Linked DNA regions of Homo sapiens: region 2 is linked to region 1. Evidence: promoter capture Hi-C in human tissues and cell types (Jung and others, 2019). All regions are on one chromosome and are shown on one strand. The core of a region is centred on a gene start or on the middle of the fragment in contact, and the rest is flanking DNA. Distances in the headings are between cores, read along the strand shown. Region 1 holds the start of SLC26A9 (solute carrier family 26 member 9). Region 2 holds the start of LOC124900423 (small nucleolar RNA SNORA72).

Region 1 (7,715 bases), core at 4,881-7,380:
CATACTTGTTGAGCGAATTGATAAATGGTGTTTTGGAGGAGACATGGGCAGAAATGAGTAAGGGCAATGGCATGTGAGACATTTCAGTGGGAGAAATGAGAGACCGGGTGGCTTAGGGAAAACAGCACAAGTTTGAGAGCCAGATGACCTGGGTTCAAAGATTCAGTTTCTTCATCTGTAAATGGGGATAATAACAGTCGCAGGCAGATGCTATGAGGATTCAGTGAGATCATGTGTATGAAGAGGCTGGCCTTTTATAGGCACCCAGTAAATGGTAGTGGCGATGATTACTATGATTAAGATGGGAGGGTGCTTTCTACCTCCTAGCAGAGACTATTCAGAGGCTGCCGGCCCTTCACCGCCCGTGAGGCGGGGTGGTCTCACTCTTCCTCTCCACCTGCTCCAGAGTCTGCATGGGTCTGGCTGTCCAGGTGGTTTGCCTGCGGGGGCTCAATGAGTGGGGAGCATGACCTCCCCACATAGGAACCCAGAGCTGCAGACCTTGCTTCAGAAAAAGACTCATGGTTTGGGGAGTCTAGCCCAGGCCACTAAACAGACCACTTGCAAAAAAAAAAATAGCCAAAAATTTCAAGGGGGGCTGAGTCAGAAAAGAAGAGCCCTTTGGAAGAGGAGGTGATGGGTGATCTTGCTTCCACACCAACCAGCAGGCAGCGATCCCTGAAGTATGTTCCTAGGCTGCTTTCAAAGGGTCTAAGTTCCGGTAGTGTGTTTGCGGGGAAGGGAGTTATTAGCATCTGATTCCGCTGAACCCTACTATCCCAGCCCCCGTCCCCAGGATTTCCCCACTTCCTCAGTGGTACCTTTCTTCCTGCCACCCAGCCCACCCCCATCCTTGTTCCTGTCCTCTCCCTACCCCTCAGCCTCCATATTCAGTTGTTCATCAAATCCTATTGCTATTTCCTTCCTTCCTTCCTCCCTCGCTTCCTTCCTTCCTTCCTTCATGTCCTTCTGTCCTGTCCATTGCCTCCATACCTCCACCCACCCTGTCCCATTGCCTCCCTCTTCAAGTCTTATCTCATGTTTGGACTATTGCAAAAATTGATCTGCTGGTCTCCAGCCATGCCCCTCCAACCCAGCCTAAACTCCCTGCTCCGAAACCTCTATCTCCCTCATTTCCAGGAGGATGAGGCCCAAACTCCTTATTTTGGCATTTTTGTTTTTTTATCCTCTGGCCTTGTATTGGTGGATTCAGGAAATCTGTTGGCTGGGTCCCTCCACACCATCTGGGCTGGTCTGTTCTGCACCCACCAAACAAGCCTGAGTCTCTGTTCCCACTTTCCTCCTTACCTGAGGTGCCCTGACTCATTTCTGCCTTTCTAGATCTGCCCATCCTTAAGACCTGTTGAAGTTCCTCCTCCAACCCTCTCCTTCCTCTCCCACTCTTTTCCCTTCTCCTTCTTGCCTATGAAGCCTTTCCTGACCACCTTGAAACCCTGAAGGATTTCTCTTTCTCCCAGGATCTCCATGTGCACCCCTCCAGCCTGTACACTAGTGTTGGCTTTGGCCATTTTTCTTTGGGAGGAAAGCGGCAGGGGTGGTGGAAGTCCTTCAGAGAGCAACAGGTAGGTGACTCAGGACCAGCTCTGCCCCTCTGGGCAGACTCACTGACAGATGGAGCACCAGATACTAGGGAGTCCCCTCTGACACAGGCTAACAGAGGAAAAGCCTCCCTTGCTTTACTGGAATACCAAATCTGTCTCTTTCCCATGCCATCTGCCCATCCCAGGAATAGGATGCTGAAGGGGAGAAGGCTCTGGGAGCTTTCACAATCCTGAGTTTGCATAAAGAGGAGAACCCAGCAGCCAGTCAGAGTCAGAAAGTTTTGTGTAGAAGAGAACTTGAGGACCACATTTGTCCAATTGTCTCATTTTGCAGATAAAGAAACTGCACTTGATTTAACTCCAGTGTTCCTATTCGAAGGGGCTTCAGACCTTCCAGGGACAAAGCTGATCTCAGGACAATGTTTTCCCCTGAGTGGCACTCAGAATGCCCCTTTCTGACCACCCTGGTGACCTTGCCACCCCAGCTGATGGGACAGGACCTCTGGGTTCTGTTACTCCTCTTGAGGGCTCTGGTTCCCTCCTGGCCTTGGTTTCCCAAGAATATGATGGCCAGAGTTGCAAATCTGCAGCCACAGGAACTGCCCCAGCTCCTGCTGAGAAGGCGCCCTCAACATACTTCCTAATTCCAAGAATAGGGGTTGAGGTGGGGTGGGACGTAGAAGACAAGGGTACTTCATCCCCAGCCAGCCCTTCAGGTGAGGGCAAGAGGTGGAGGGAAGGGGGATGGGAGTGGTGGAAAAGGGTGGGTGGCATGGTGGGGAGGAGGAGTCTCAGAGAACTAGCAGGGATGGGAGTCCCAGGGAATCCTCAGAGAGGGTGTCTCACGATGCCAGATGCTACATTAGGGGCAGGAAAGTGGAAGAGGGAGCAAGAAAGAGAGCCAGGTATAGGGAACATAACAATCTGATCCCCAGTTAAACAAACAAACAGCCATGATAAGTGATGTCAGCATCGCTGGAAAAAAAAGTCAAGTGCCCTATTGCCAGAGGCGTGTATCTACAAGCCCTGCCCCCACCACCCCTCCACTGCCTTCCATCCCCCTACCGGGCCAGGGATAAATAGCAGGTGCCATGTGATAATACTGAGAAACAAAAGGGTGACCCTGCCCCTCCTCCACTGTGCAGGGAAGGGGGGCAGGTCCTAAAGAGCTGGAGGGACTTAGAGGGGGTCTGTAGGGTTTAAGGGGAGTAGGGGGTGAGCCAGGAGAGCAGAGGGCAGGAGATGTGGGTGCATGGGCCACTCCCATGCACTGGCAGGAGAGTGGGTCAAATCTGGAGCAGAGGGGATGCAGGGGTCGTGCGAGCCGGAGTAGCTGGGAGAGGGGAAGCAAAGAGAAAATAGACCCTGCAGGGAGGGCACAGGCTGGAGCAGATTCCCTCTTGAGATTCTCCAGGATTTCTCCTCCAATGAGCTCATGCCAAAGCACGCCCCTGGTACCTTCTCCCAGTCACATTTCTAACCAGGTCTCTGTCAACACCATCCAAATATTGTAGGCAGAGATGGGCTTGGGCAGAGATGGGCTCAGGCAGAGACAGTGCCCGAGTGGATGCACTGAAAGGCTCGGAACGGCACCTGGCCATGGGAAGCATGCAATAAACTCCAACTATCATCATTACTGCTATGACTCCAGAGGAGCCTCTTTCTTGCTCTGCCATCTCTAGTGGGCACTCTGCCTTTTTTTGGCTTGCCTTTTTCCATCTGCCCCTATACCTGCTGCCCCATGCCTTAACCCCTCCAAATTTTCCCAGGACTTGATGAGAGGAACAGCAGAAAATCTTGTCAGAAGAGGGTAGAACATCTGCAGAGCAGGACTGTGAGGGGTCCATTTGTGGGTTTTGGTTGGATCTGGAGGTGATCCTGTCACTGTGGGCCAGGCTGACTTCCTCCCTCAGTCCTGTCGGGGGTGTGCATGTGAGGGAGGGGGTTTTTGACGCATGTGTGCCAGGTACGGGAACAGCCCCGGCTGGGCCAACCCACCCTGGCATCCTTATCACTGGTTCCTAGCCAGCCGGTTGCTGTGTTCTGGGAAGAGGAAAGGTCACCTTGAGGTTTCCCCTTTGCTCTAGCTGCTGGTTGCCTCCCTGCCTCATCCAGGGTGGGGGCCACAGGGTAAGAGCAGCCTCTGAGTGACCCAGGTGTGAATGTGAGCTGGGACAGACAAGCTGGCTGGGGTCTCAGTGGGAGACCACATCCATGGCAGGAGGAGGAAGGATGTAGAGGCCTCTGCACCCCTAAGGCTTTTTTGTTTGTTTGTTTTGTTTTTTTGTTTTTGTTTTTTGAGGTGGAGTCTCCCTCTGTCACCCAGGCTGGAGTGCAGTGGCACGATCTTGGCTCACCACAGGGTGCACTTCCTGGGTTCAAGCAATTCTCCTGCCTCAGCCTCCCTAGGAGCTGGGATTACTGGTGCGCGCCATGACACCCAGCTAATATTTTTTATATTTTTAGTAGAGACGGGGTTTCGCCATGTTGGCCAGCCTGGTCTCGAACTCCTGACCTCAAGTGATCTGCCCTCCTTGGCCTCCCAAAGTGCTGAGATTACAGGCTGAGCCACTGCGCCCAGCCCCCCAAGGCATTTTTAAACACTCCTTTTCCTTCTACTGTCCCTGTGTTTCCAGGGCAAATCTCTCCCTACTCCTCACCCCAGCCTAATTTCCTCCTCAGTGTAGGGGAGGATGAGATGTCCCTAAGGTGTCTTAGAGACTGCATCCCGTGTAGGAGAGAGATTCACTGATACCACCCCCCAAATCCCCACTCCTTATCTCCAGGCGAACTCTCCCTCCTCTGCACTTTCCCTGCTGGGAATGGGTGCTGGGCTGAGGAAATAGGCTCCAGAAAGAGGGACCAAGGCTAGACTTTGAGAATCACTTCCTAACAGCAAGACTGACAAGGTCATGGGCTCCCTGGAATGGGCACTTGAGGTTAAATTCCTAGAAGTCTTTAAGGAGACTGGGGTTGCTTTCACTTGGAAGCAGGGCCTGGGCAAGGAGACCAGTGAAGGGCCCAGCTGCTCTGGTCCCAGAAATCCAGGCGAAAGCCCAGAGAGGCATCCAGTGAAGATCAACTCCCCTTGAAGGGGTGGCTCTGCCCCTTCCATCTTCCAAGTAGTGACCCCACAGCCCCCAAAGCTTGGTCAGTGTTGAGCTGGTCCTCGATTCCCCCAGCAAGTTCACGGGGGTCAGTCTGGCTGTTTAGTACGGTTTAAGAGGCACTCTTGAATACTGGGTATATGCCAATCTCCGGAAGACTCTGGGCATTAAAAGATAAAGAGGAGTCCGTCTCTGCCCCAGGGTTTATACAAATGAGACTCAGAGAGCAGGTGGCTAGCTCTGGGAAGTGCCTGGGAAGGCCTTCCTGGCAGTGGAGGTGCTCTTGGCCATGCTGGTCTCCATGCTGCCCAAGCAGGGTCTTGCCAGGTTCTGGATGCCAGGGCCAGGATGAGGGAGGTGGGGGAGGACTGTGGGGTTCTGAGAAAGGGTCATCTGCATGAGTGAAGCCACTCAGGGGGAAAGCCCTCTCTCAGTCTGCCCACTTGGGGGGCTGCGTCACTCCAGGGTCTTCTGGTCCTCAGACCCGTGGGGCCAAGTGTAAGGGGGCAGTTGATGCTGGAATAATAGAAGCTTTGTTAGGTCTCAGCTGGGGACCCTCTGGGCTGGTTTTGAGGAATGGGGGCACTGCCTGAGAGTGGCTTGGAACCCCTTGGAGCTGCAGGATGAGGGGTTTGGAGGCTGAGAGCCTGGAGAGCTGGCTGCCCATCCACTGTCCTGGCCCAAGCCCTTCTGTGTTGAAGCATTCACCATTGAGTCGGGCGTCCCAGGTCCAGCTACCGCCCACCCGCCTGCCTGATGGAGCTGGTCCCTTGCTCACCCTCTCCCACTCCTCAGTTTCCTCCCCCTCCACCTCTTCCAACTTCTCAGGACTAATGGGGACACATGGGATTCTGTGTAGTCCATGCTAAGTTCCCCGAGCTGGTGGAGAAGTACATGAGTGAAGGAGGATGTCTGGGCGGTAGAAGGAGGGGGAGACAGCCATGCAGAGTAGGCTGGTGAGTCAAGCATTAAGAGCTTTTCCCTCCAAGACTTGAAAAGAAAGGGAGAGGAGCAGCCCACAGCTTCAAAGGCTGTCGCGGAGGAAGGTCTAACATTTTCCTTTCCCTCGGAGGCCTTTGCCTCGCTCTGTTTCGGGGTCTGGCGACCACCACACCCTCACCCTACTTGCTCCCTCAGTCAAGCCCAGCCTTGCAGCCCAGGTCCTTACATAGACGTGAAGACCCAAAGGGCTCCTCAGAGGGGAAGGGCTGGGAGGCTGCTCTCAGACTCCAGGGGCCAGAGTGTCCTTCCTACTTGTGCTCAGCTTGGCAGTTGGTTCCTGTCATCCCTCCTCTCGGTACCCCTGGTGACTGCCCTCTTGCAGGGATGACCCCAGCCCAGTGGGGTGGGCTGGGCTGGGTGGGGCTTACCAGTGGGTGAGCAAAGCCGGCTGGGCAGGGCTGCAGGTGTGTCTGGGGAGCGGGCAGCCGAAAGGTGTTCCTGAGGTGTGTGAAAGGGCTCTGCTCAAATAATCCAGGGAGGCGTTTATAAATAACTTTTCCTCAGGGCCACGGGGTGAGCCCCGGCTTCTGATTGGCTCAGAGGGGAAGTGGTTTTGAACACTACACCATAGCTAAGCCTGAGGAGATAGGAAAAGGAGATAAGGGGGAAAAGGTCCCAAATGAACAGCCCTTTTTTTGTTTTACCTGGGGAGCAGGGCTGTGTGATGGGAGCTTGGCACTTCCTAAATCCACCCCGAAGACAATAGGTCACATTCAGCGGGGCTCCTGCCCCACCGGCTCCCCCAAGGCGGCCCTGGAGGAGGGGGACGAGGCAGAGGAGGGGGACAAGGCAGGACAAGCTCCTCTGAGCTTGCTGTCCTGCTGCTTATGGGGCTGGGGGTCAGGCCAAAGAGCCTCTTGGACAATGGGAGCTATTGAGGCCACCTGAGGGGTGTGCTCTTGGGGATGCTTGCTTTGAAGATTGGAGATCTAGGGGGTGGGAAGACAGTAGTCCTCTGAACACCCCTGAGGAAGGGGAAGAACCATGTCTGGGAGGCCCTGGGAGCCTTTAGGCGGTTTTGGTTTGTGGTGGAGACCTGGTTCCCAGTTCTGTCCCCAATGTTAAGTTGCTTGTGAGCTCTGTGCCTTGGTCTATCCATCAGTGCAATGGGGGAAATTATTCCTGGCCCCTCAGGTAGTGTGCAAAGAGAACACAGGGGTTTAGAATCTGATAAAAGAGCTCAAGAAACTGGACTTAGAACAATTATATGAGAGGCGACCTGAAGGCTAGCAAATCTCCAGTCACAGCCCTCTGCCGCTTCTAGGAATTAATGTCTCCCTGGGTCATGGCACTGCTCCGGCTGCTGCCAGCAGAGCTGCCCATCCCAGGCCCATTGAGTGCTACGGAAGGACCTCAGAAAGCAATTGTGGACAGGGGCTGGGAGGGTGGGTAGGGGAGTTTCTTAATTTACTTCCTGGGAGGGAGAGTCACTACCCGACACCAGGTGCCCATTCTTTGAGACATCAAGTGCTGCACTGTCCTCGTCCTCAACTGTCCTCCCATCTCTCCAAAAGAAACCAGAGGCTCTGAAGTGGGCTGGAATCAGTGCAGGGGGCTTCAGTAAGGCACCTCTGGAAGTTGGGGCGAAAGTTCCCCATGGTGAAATGAGCTAGCTTCAGTACTTAATAGGGACTCAATAAATATTTGTTAAATGAATGAAAGAGTGAATTGTCTGCAAGCCCAACCCAAGGGATAGTTTGTAGATGCATTGCTTGTGGGGACTAGGGAAACACCCGAGGTCACTCAGAGTTGTCAGGGTGTAGCCAGACAACTGGCTGAAGAGAGCCAGAATTCAAGTGACCCAAGTGTGCCCTGACACCTGGCTGAGGGAAGGATGTGTGCATGGACACTGCCTCGGGGAGCCCTTCCCCAGACCCCTATGTGGACTTAGCTGACATGTTGCACATTCGTTCCTCTGGCTTCCTCTGCTTCACTCTCATAACACTGACCACAATTAATGGTAATTATGTATGGAATTGTCAGTCTTTCTGCAAACACCGTGAACTCCCTGAGGAGGGCAAGGGGGCAGTGCCTCTTTTGTATC
Region 2 (7,841 bases), core at 3,068-5,567, 210 kb before region 1:
GCATGAGCCACCATGTACTCCTAATATCCTGGTCTTATGAGGCAAAATTATAGTTAAAATCACAACTCATTTGTAAAACTAAGGGAAAAGAAACTCTCCAAAATGGTTAAATTATTTAAACAAAGGAGAATTGATTATGAGACAGCAAAAGGCAGCAGGCTATACAACTTAAGATTCTACAAGCTTTAGTTGTAATTAATTGTGCCAGTGATTTGTGACTGAATGAGATATATCACTTATTTTTTGTTATCACTACAATGAAAGTGTCAGTATTAACCTTAGATAACAAATTGTATACTCGAGCACAGCCTGAGATAATATGAAATATGCAAAATATTAAGTGGACAGTAAGTACTTTTCAAAAGTATATGAGATTCCAACAATTTAGAGATCAGAGACTGCTCTCATCTCAGAGTGGTAACAGTGTAAGCAGGAACAGAAAAACAATGCCTCTTACCTATCTTCCTGTGAATTCTTTCCAGATCGCCTCTTATTTTTAGCTTCTCGGGGAGATGATCGAATTTTCTTAGTGGGAGGGCCCGAATCTCTTCCATAATCTTCATCTAAACAGTGTTTTTCAAACTTAATTAACTATGATTTTTACATGTTAAAATCACCACTATATTTACTGACATAATTATCTCTCATGCTGTTTAAATGGTGAGAGGAGCAGGATTTCCCAAATAGTTTCTTTCATCTTTAAAAAACTAAATTATTTCCCAACGCAGTCCTATCACCTTCACTTCGTTTTTGCATATTACCCTCTAGTCCTTATGATATATATTTCATCTTTCTATAGCTAAACCTCTCTCATCATTTTATACCCTCCCCTTTTGATTTCAACATCTTCACACTTATTTGAAAATTATTGTAATATGGTTATATTACAAACATTTTAGGAAGTAAACACAATTACTATTACTAAGCAAATTACTTTTAAACTAAAGCATTAAATACAACATAATCTTGCACTTGAAGAAAATATCTCCAATTTCAAAAGCCCTATAAAACTAAGGAAAATGACTCTACCTTAAAAGGAAATTATTTCCAAAACTGTTTACTGCACCATTTGCACACACACACATGCACACACACACACACACGATGGCGAGATGCTGGAAGTAGTCTGGAGCGTCAGCAATTATTAAGTGGTCAGAAACATTATAAATTCCATTATGGGATATTATATAACCATTGATAGGAATTTTTCAAATACCTTTTATTAACAAGATACTCAAAATAGAAATAATAATAGTATATCACACATTAACAGATTATTCTAAGTAAATATTAAATACAAACATTTGAAACAATTCCTGACATGTAGCAAGCATTTAATAAATATTAGTGCTACATATTATTTTTTTTCTCTTCTTCATATCTTTCAGTATTTTCTAAGTCTTCCCAAAGGGCACATATTATCTTTATAAAGAAAAGTTAGAATAAAAAGAAAGAAAAAAGAATAGTAAACATACCTGGAAAGTAATGAGATTAAGGAGACAACTCTGAAAAAACCTCTTATGGCTAAGACTTAGCTATACAACACTCATTCCTTGATGAATTAGTTCATAAATATAAGTTGTTTCACAAAACAGACTCTCATCTTAGTTGCTTTATTATGTAAAAACATAATACAAGGCACAAGTTTTATTGTAGTAACAGCAGGAGATTTTTTTTCCCCTGCAAAGTGCTGGGATTCATAGGCGTGAGCCACTGCGCCTGGCTGTAGTGGATTTTTTTTTTTGAGACAGGGTCTCTTTCTGTTGCCCAGGCTGGAGTGCAGTGGCGCCATCTCGGCTCACTGCAACCTCCGCCTCCCGAGTTCAAGCGATTCTCTTGCCTCAGCCTCCAGAGTAGCTGGGATTACAGGTGCATGCCAACACTCCCGGCTAATTTTTGTATTTTTAGCAGAGATGGGGTTTCACCATGTTGGCCAGGATGGTCTGGAACTCTTGACCTCAAGTGGTCCGCCCACCTTGGCCTCCCAAAGTGCTGGGATTACAGGCATGAGCCATGGCGACTGGCTGACAGCAGGAGATATTTTAAGCAATGAACACTGTATCAGAATTACTGGACATTTAAACTTTGGACTCCAAAACCAGGTAAGAAAAAAGCTTTTTAATGTTTATTATCAATGATTTACCAAGGAAAAGTTAAAATCCATGTAAGTTCAACTTTTGCTTTGGTTGACACAGATCATGACATGGTTTTGGTAAATGATCTAAAAATAAAAAAGTAAAACTTATTCCAAAAGCATAATAAAACTATATAAGCTGGTAACCTCCACTGGTCAGTCCAACTTAAAATTTGTTGAAACCACAAAACTTACCTGCATCATCAGATTCCTGAAACTGTGAGTAATCAACAACCTTCCTATTTCTGTAGAAAGAAGAGACTCTAATTAAAATCATAAAACTGTAGGATTTTTCTAAGACATCAGAACACACATTTCTCTTTCATAAACAGAACTGAACTAGCACTTTGAAAATTATTTAATTGCTGGACGTGGTGGCTCACACCTGTAATCCCAGCACTTTGGGAGGCCAAGGCTGGTGGATCATCTGAGGTTGGGAGTTTGAGATCAGCCTAACCAACATAGAGAAACCTTGTCTCTACTAAAAACACAAAATTAGCCAAGCGTGGTGGTGCATGCCTGTAATCCCTGCTACTTGGGAAGCTGAGGTAGGAGAATCACTTGAACCCAGGGGTCAGAGGTTGTGGTGAGCCGAGATACCTCCATTGCACTCCAGCCTGGGCAACAAAAGTGAAACTCCATCTCAAAAAAAAAAAAGAAAAGAAAAAAAAAGAAAATTATTTAATTAATTTTTTGAGACAGGGTGTCACTCTGTCGCCTAGGCTGGAGAGCAGTGACACAATCATGGCTCACTGCAACCTTGACCTACTGGGCCCAAGTAATCCGCCTGCCTCAGCCTCCTGAGTAGCTGGGACTACAGACGCATGCTGGCTAATTTTTTTTCATTTTTTGTAGAGACAGGGTCTCCTGGTGTTGCCCAGGCTGGTCTCAAACTCCTGAGCTCAGGTAGTCATCCTGCCTCAGCCTCCCGAAGTGCTGGGATTACAGGCACGAGCCACTGCACCCAGCCAAAAATTATTTTTTAAAGGCCCCCACTTAAGCCTAAGTACTTAACATTCTGTTATAAGAAAGCATAGCATAAACCACAAGTATGTCAAGCTACAATTCTCATACTGCTCATCTCAGTGATAATTCAAATACCATTCTTTTCTCTCTCTTTTTTTTTTTTTGAGATGAAGTCTTGCCCTGTCGCCCAGGCTAGAGTGCAATGGCGAGATCTTGGCTCACTGCAACCTCTGCCTCCCAAGTTCAAGCGATTCTCCTGCTTCAGCCTCCCGAGTAGCTGAGATTACAGGCGTGTGCCACCACGCCTGGCTAATATTTGTATCTTTAGTAGAGACGGGGTTTCACCATGTTGGCCAGGCTGGTCTCCCCTGATCTCGTGATCCGCCCGTCTTGGCCTCCCAAAGTGCTGGGATTACAGGCGTGAGCCACCGTGCCCGGTCTCAAATACCATTCTTTTCTACAAAACAATCTCCCGTCTCTCAAAACAAATATACATAAAACAGCAAAATGAGCCAAATCACCATGTACCTATGTATTCATTATATACAAAGATGCCCTATTTATAAGCTAAAGTTGTAAATGATATTTTACTCTTACTGCTACACACATATATATGTATACTTGATAAACAAGGTTATTACTAAGCTTTTCAAGGCAAAAGCAATTTTTAGGTATAGTACAGTTACATTATAATGCACAAAAATTATGGTAATGTTAAGCTTTATACAGAAGGGGAAGGAAACAAATTAATTGGTCCAGTCAAAAGATGCTTTATTTAAAAAACTATGAAAGCCTCACAGATTTATGTACATCTATGTATTTGACTCTATTCTTTTGTTTCTAAACTTTTTTTTTCCTTTTCCAATTTTACAGACCTGGTTTATCAGCAACATTTATAAAACTAGACCTCAGGAAAGAACTAGTTCTGGGGATATATGCATGGTCTTAATAAAGTGAATGGTTAGCCTGTCCTGACTATTACAAAATCAAAACAGTGAGAATATCTGCAGAATCTATTTGACTCTAAATGACTTTAAGTACTCCCTATCAAGTAACGTATCTTTAACATCTCAAACAAATCTTCATTTCTATTTTTGTACTCTGCACTCTAAATCTAAAAGTTTAATACTTCTTCTCTAGAGATATACATGTAAGCTTCCATGTTAGTACCCAAACAGCCTACCTGGCAAAAGAGCCTTAGATTAAAAAATGCACTGTTACTGTAGGCCTAAATTGATCAAGTGAACTTAAAAAATTAAGAGAAATAGGCCAGGCGCAGTGGCTCACGCCTATAATTTCACCACTTTGGGAGGCCGAGGCGGGCAGATCACGAGGTCAGGAGATTGAGACCATCCTGGCCAACGTGGTGAAACCCCGTCTCCACTAAAAATACTAAAAAATTAGCTGGGTGTGGTGGCGGGCGCCTGTAGTCCCAGCTACTCGGGAGGCTGAGGCAGGAGAATGGCTTGAACCCGGGAGGCAGAGCTCGCAGTGAGTGAGCCAACATCACGCCACTGCACTCCAGCCTGGGCGAAAGAGAGAGACTCCGTCTCAAAAAAAAAAAAAAAATTTAAGATAAATATACATTACCACCTATACTTAAACCTGAGCAGAGGGATATTCTTGGCTGTATAGATTAAGACACCATTTAAATTCAAAGACAGGATGGTCAGACTGCAAACACTGGTCCACCTTCTAGTATAGTATGTGGAGATGGTATGGATGGAGGTGAATTCTGGAAAAAAAGGCTTGGGCTTATATGTAGAGGAATATATAGTTACATACTCAGCATTAGAAAGAGAAAAAACAAGGCTCTTAAGGAGTTCCACCTTCTGTTTTTCTTTAGTTTAACAAAACTATAAAATATACTCCAACTATATATTTTATTGTAAGAAGCTGAGTTTATATTACCAAAGATACTATATTATTAGGAAAGCTAACTTTAAATATGACTATTAATTCCATGTACATGAGGGACCTAGAGTAGATGAATTCAGAGAGACAGAAAGTAGAGTGGTGGTTGCCAGAGGCTGGAAGAGTGGGGATGAGGAGCTGTTGTTTAGTGGGTTTAGTTTCAGTTTTGCAAGATTAAGAGTTCTTTACAACAATGTCAAGTACTTAACAATACTGAACTATACACTTAAAAATGGTTAACATGGGCCGGGCACAGTGGCTCATGCCTGTAATCCCAGCACTTTGGGAGGCCAAGGTGGGCGGATCATGAGGTCAAAAGATCGAGACCATCCTGGCCAACATGGTGAAAACCCGTCTCTAGTAAAAGTACAAAAATTAGCTGGGCGTGGTGGTGCGTGCCTGTAGTGCCAGCTACTTGGGAGACTGATGCAGGAGAATTGCTTGAACCTGGGAGACAGAGGTTGCAGTGAGCAGGGATCGCACCACTGCACTCCAGCCTGGCAACAGAGCAAGACTCTGTCTCAAAAAAAAAAAAAAAAGTTAAGATGGTAAATTTTATGCTAAGCATATTTTATTACAATAAAAATATATTTTCTTTCTTAAAAATATGACTATGAAAAAATCTAATATTTTTGGGCTACTATGGAAATGCCTGCCATGTTCTGGCAAAACAGTGATTTTTTAATGACAAATGCCATGAAAAATAGTATGATGATCATAATGCAAACACGACCATTTTCTGTATTATTTAGGATAAAAAAAATGGGTCATAGAACCAGGGGAAGAAAGGTATCTAGAAGAGGAACTCTTACATCTTATCCTCTAATAATTAAAATACAGGTTCCGAACTTGTAGGTATAATTCTAGCTTATCCCATGCTTGTGGGGTGGCAACTAACATATTATTACCCCATTTCTGGGTACGACGTAGCAATGGATATATCCTATGAAACTACATAAGGATGGACAACCAGAATGGTAAACGGTATATCATATGAAGAACAAATGAATAAATTGAGAATATTTAACTTGTAAAATGGGAAAACATGTTAGCTACTTTAGGGCTTTGATGTGAAAGGAGTAGTAGAGGTACAGCTTAGCTTTAGCAATCACATTAAGTGTAGGTTCAACATAAAGAGCTTTAACTGTCTGCTAACAATGGCTACTTCCTTACTCTATCACTAGAAACACTCAAGAAAGGAATTAGTATGGACTCTTTGTACTAGGAATCCTGGGTTCTGGTTCTAGAATGTCAAGAAAATCATGTAATTTCTCTGGGCCTTAGTTCTTCCTCTGTTGGAACTGATAACCTAAATTGCTTGACAGATCTAAAAGATATTCTATAAAATTAAATGTTTAAATAATAAATTAAATAATAAATAAAATATTTAATAAATAACATAAATGGCAGGCATTATATTAAAATATAATATAGAAAATGGTCACTGCAAATGATCATATTGCATTATGATCACAATACTGTTTTTCATGGCATTTGTCATTAAAAATTAACTGCCCTCCACAACAGAAGAAAACTTAATCTCCTCCTCCTTCCCTGTATATCTATCTGTATCTATCTAGACAGACCTACCTACCTATCTTCCATCTGTCCGTCCACCCATCCATCCATCCAACAATTGAGACAGGGTCTTGTTCTGTCATCCAGGCTGGAGTGCAGTGGCAGTCATAGCTCACTGCAGTCTCCAACTCCTGAGCTCAAGTGATCCTCCCACCTTAGCTTGTGGAACTACAGAAAGGCACACAGCCACCATGCCTGGCTAATTAAAAACAATTTTTTTTTTTTGTAGAGACGGGGCCTTTCTATGTTTCCCATGCTGGTCTCAAACTCCTGGCCTCAAGCAATCCTCTCACCTTAATCTCCCAAAATGCTGGGATTACAGGTGTGAGCCACCAGGCCTGGCCTGTAACTTGTTACTTTAAACCTAAGACACTAAAAAGGATACTTTTTATTTAGTACATATTTTTCTATCCTACTTTTCAACAAACAGAACTACAGAAATGCCATGTAGACTATATTGGCATTATATAAACAATTAAATTTTAAAATTAAATTGAAAGACTATCCCTTCCGTTGAAATATGAAGTATTTTAACTTTCAATGATCTGAAAACAGCCAGAATGATCTCATATGCCATTTATCACAAATACCATAAAATCAGTGTAAAGCAAAATATGAATATAGAAGCAATTCTGCCTTATTAAGGGCAACCAGTCAGAAACAAATATAGTCATCCATAAATGCTAAAGAGGGAAAAGATAAAATAAATAAATAAAAGATCTGTGATAACAAGGGCCATTCATGATGACTCATAATGACTCATAATAATTTGGTTCAGGCCGGGCTTGGTGGCTCACGCCTGTAATCCCAGCACTTTGGGAGGCCAAGGTGGGTGGATCACCTGAAGTCAGGAGTTCAAGACCAGCCTGGCCAACATGGTGAAACCCCATCTCCACTAAAAATACAAAAAATTAGCCAGGCGTGGTGGCGGTCACCTGTAATCCCAGCTACTCGGGAGGCTGAGGCACAAGAATCGCTTGAACCCGGAAGGTGGAGGTTACAGTGGGCCAAGATTGTGCCACTGCACTCCAGCCTGGGTGATAGAGCAAGACTCCATCTCAAAAAAAAAATAAAAAAGTTTATTTCCCAAACAATGTCCTGCCTCCTAAAGATGCTTATTCAAAATAATATAAATAACATACTATTTCCACCACTTAAAGGCTTGCTTTGTCTGGGGTTGAAATACATTTTTGATGAATTTGTTCCTAATGAGATGATAGGACAGAAATCCAGCATTTAAGAATTTCAT

What was found. The method cuts DNA at HindIII sites, captures the fragments that hold promoters and counts their contacts. A contact is called where the count stands out against the background at its distance.
Region 2: a contact is called between a fragment that was not itself captured here and the fragment with the promoter of SLC26A9 in region 1, in 1 of the 25 tissues and cell types used here (dorsolateral prefrontal cortex).

The regions. Positions count from the first base shown.
Region 1 is chr1:205,937,326-205,945,040 of GRCh38, forward strand. SLC26A9 (solute carrier family 26 member 9) reads right to left here and starts at 6,131. Exons shown (of 21, transcript NM_052934.4): 1 at 6,040-6,131. All of the region lies in intron 2 of SLC26A9-AS1 (SLC26A9 and RAB7B antisense RNA 1), which reads left to right. The HindIII fragment of the contact is 4,976 bases long and covers 4,955-7,715 here.
Region 2 is chr1:205,727,243-205,735,083 of GRCh38, forward strand. NUCKS1 (nuclear casein kinase and cyclin dependent kinase substrate 1) reads right to left here. Exons shown (of 7, transcript NM_022731.5): 2 at 2,330-2,379; 3 at 458-563. It overlaps LOC124900423 (small nucleolar RNA SNORA72), which reads right to left and starts at 4,110; the gene lies at 3,979-4,110. The HindIII fragment of the contact is 6,338 bases long and covers 1,149-7,486 here.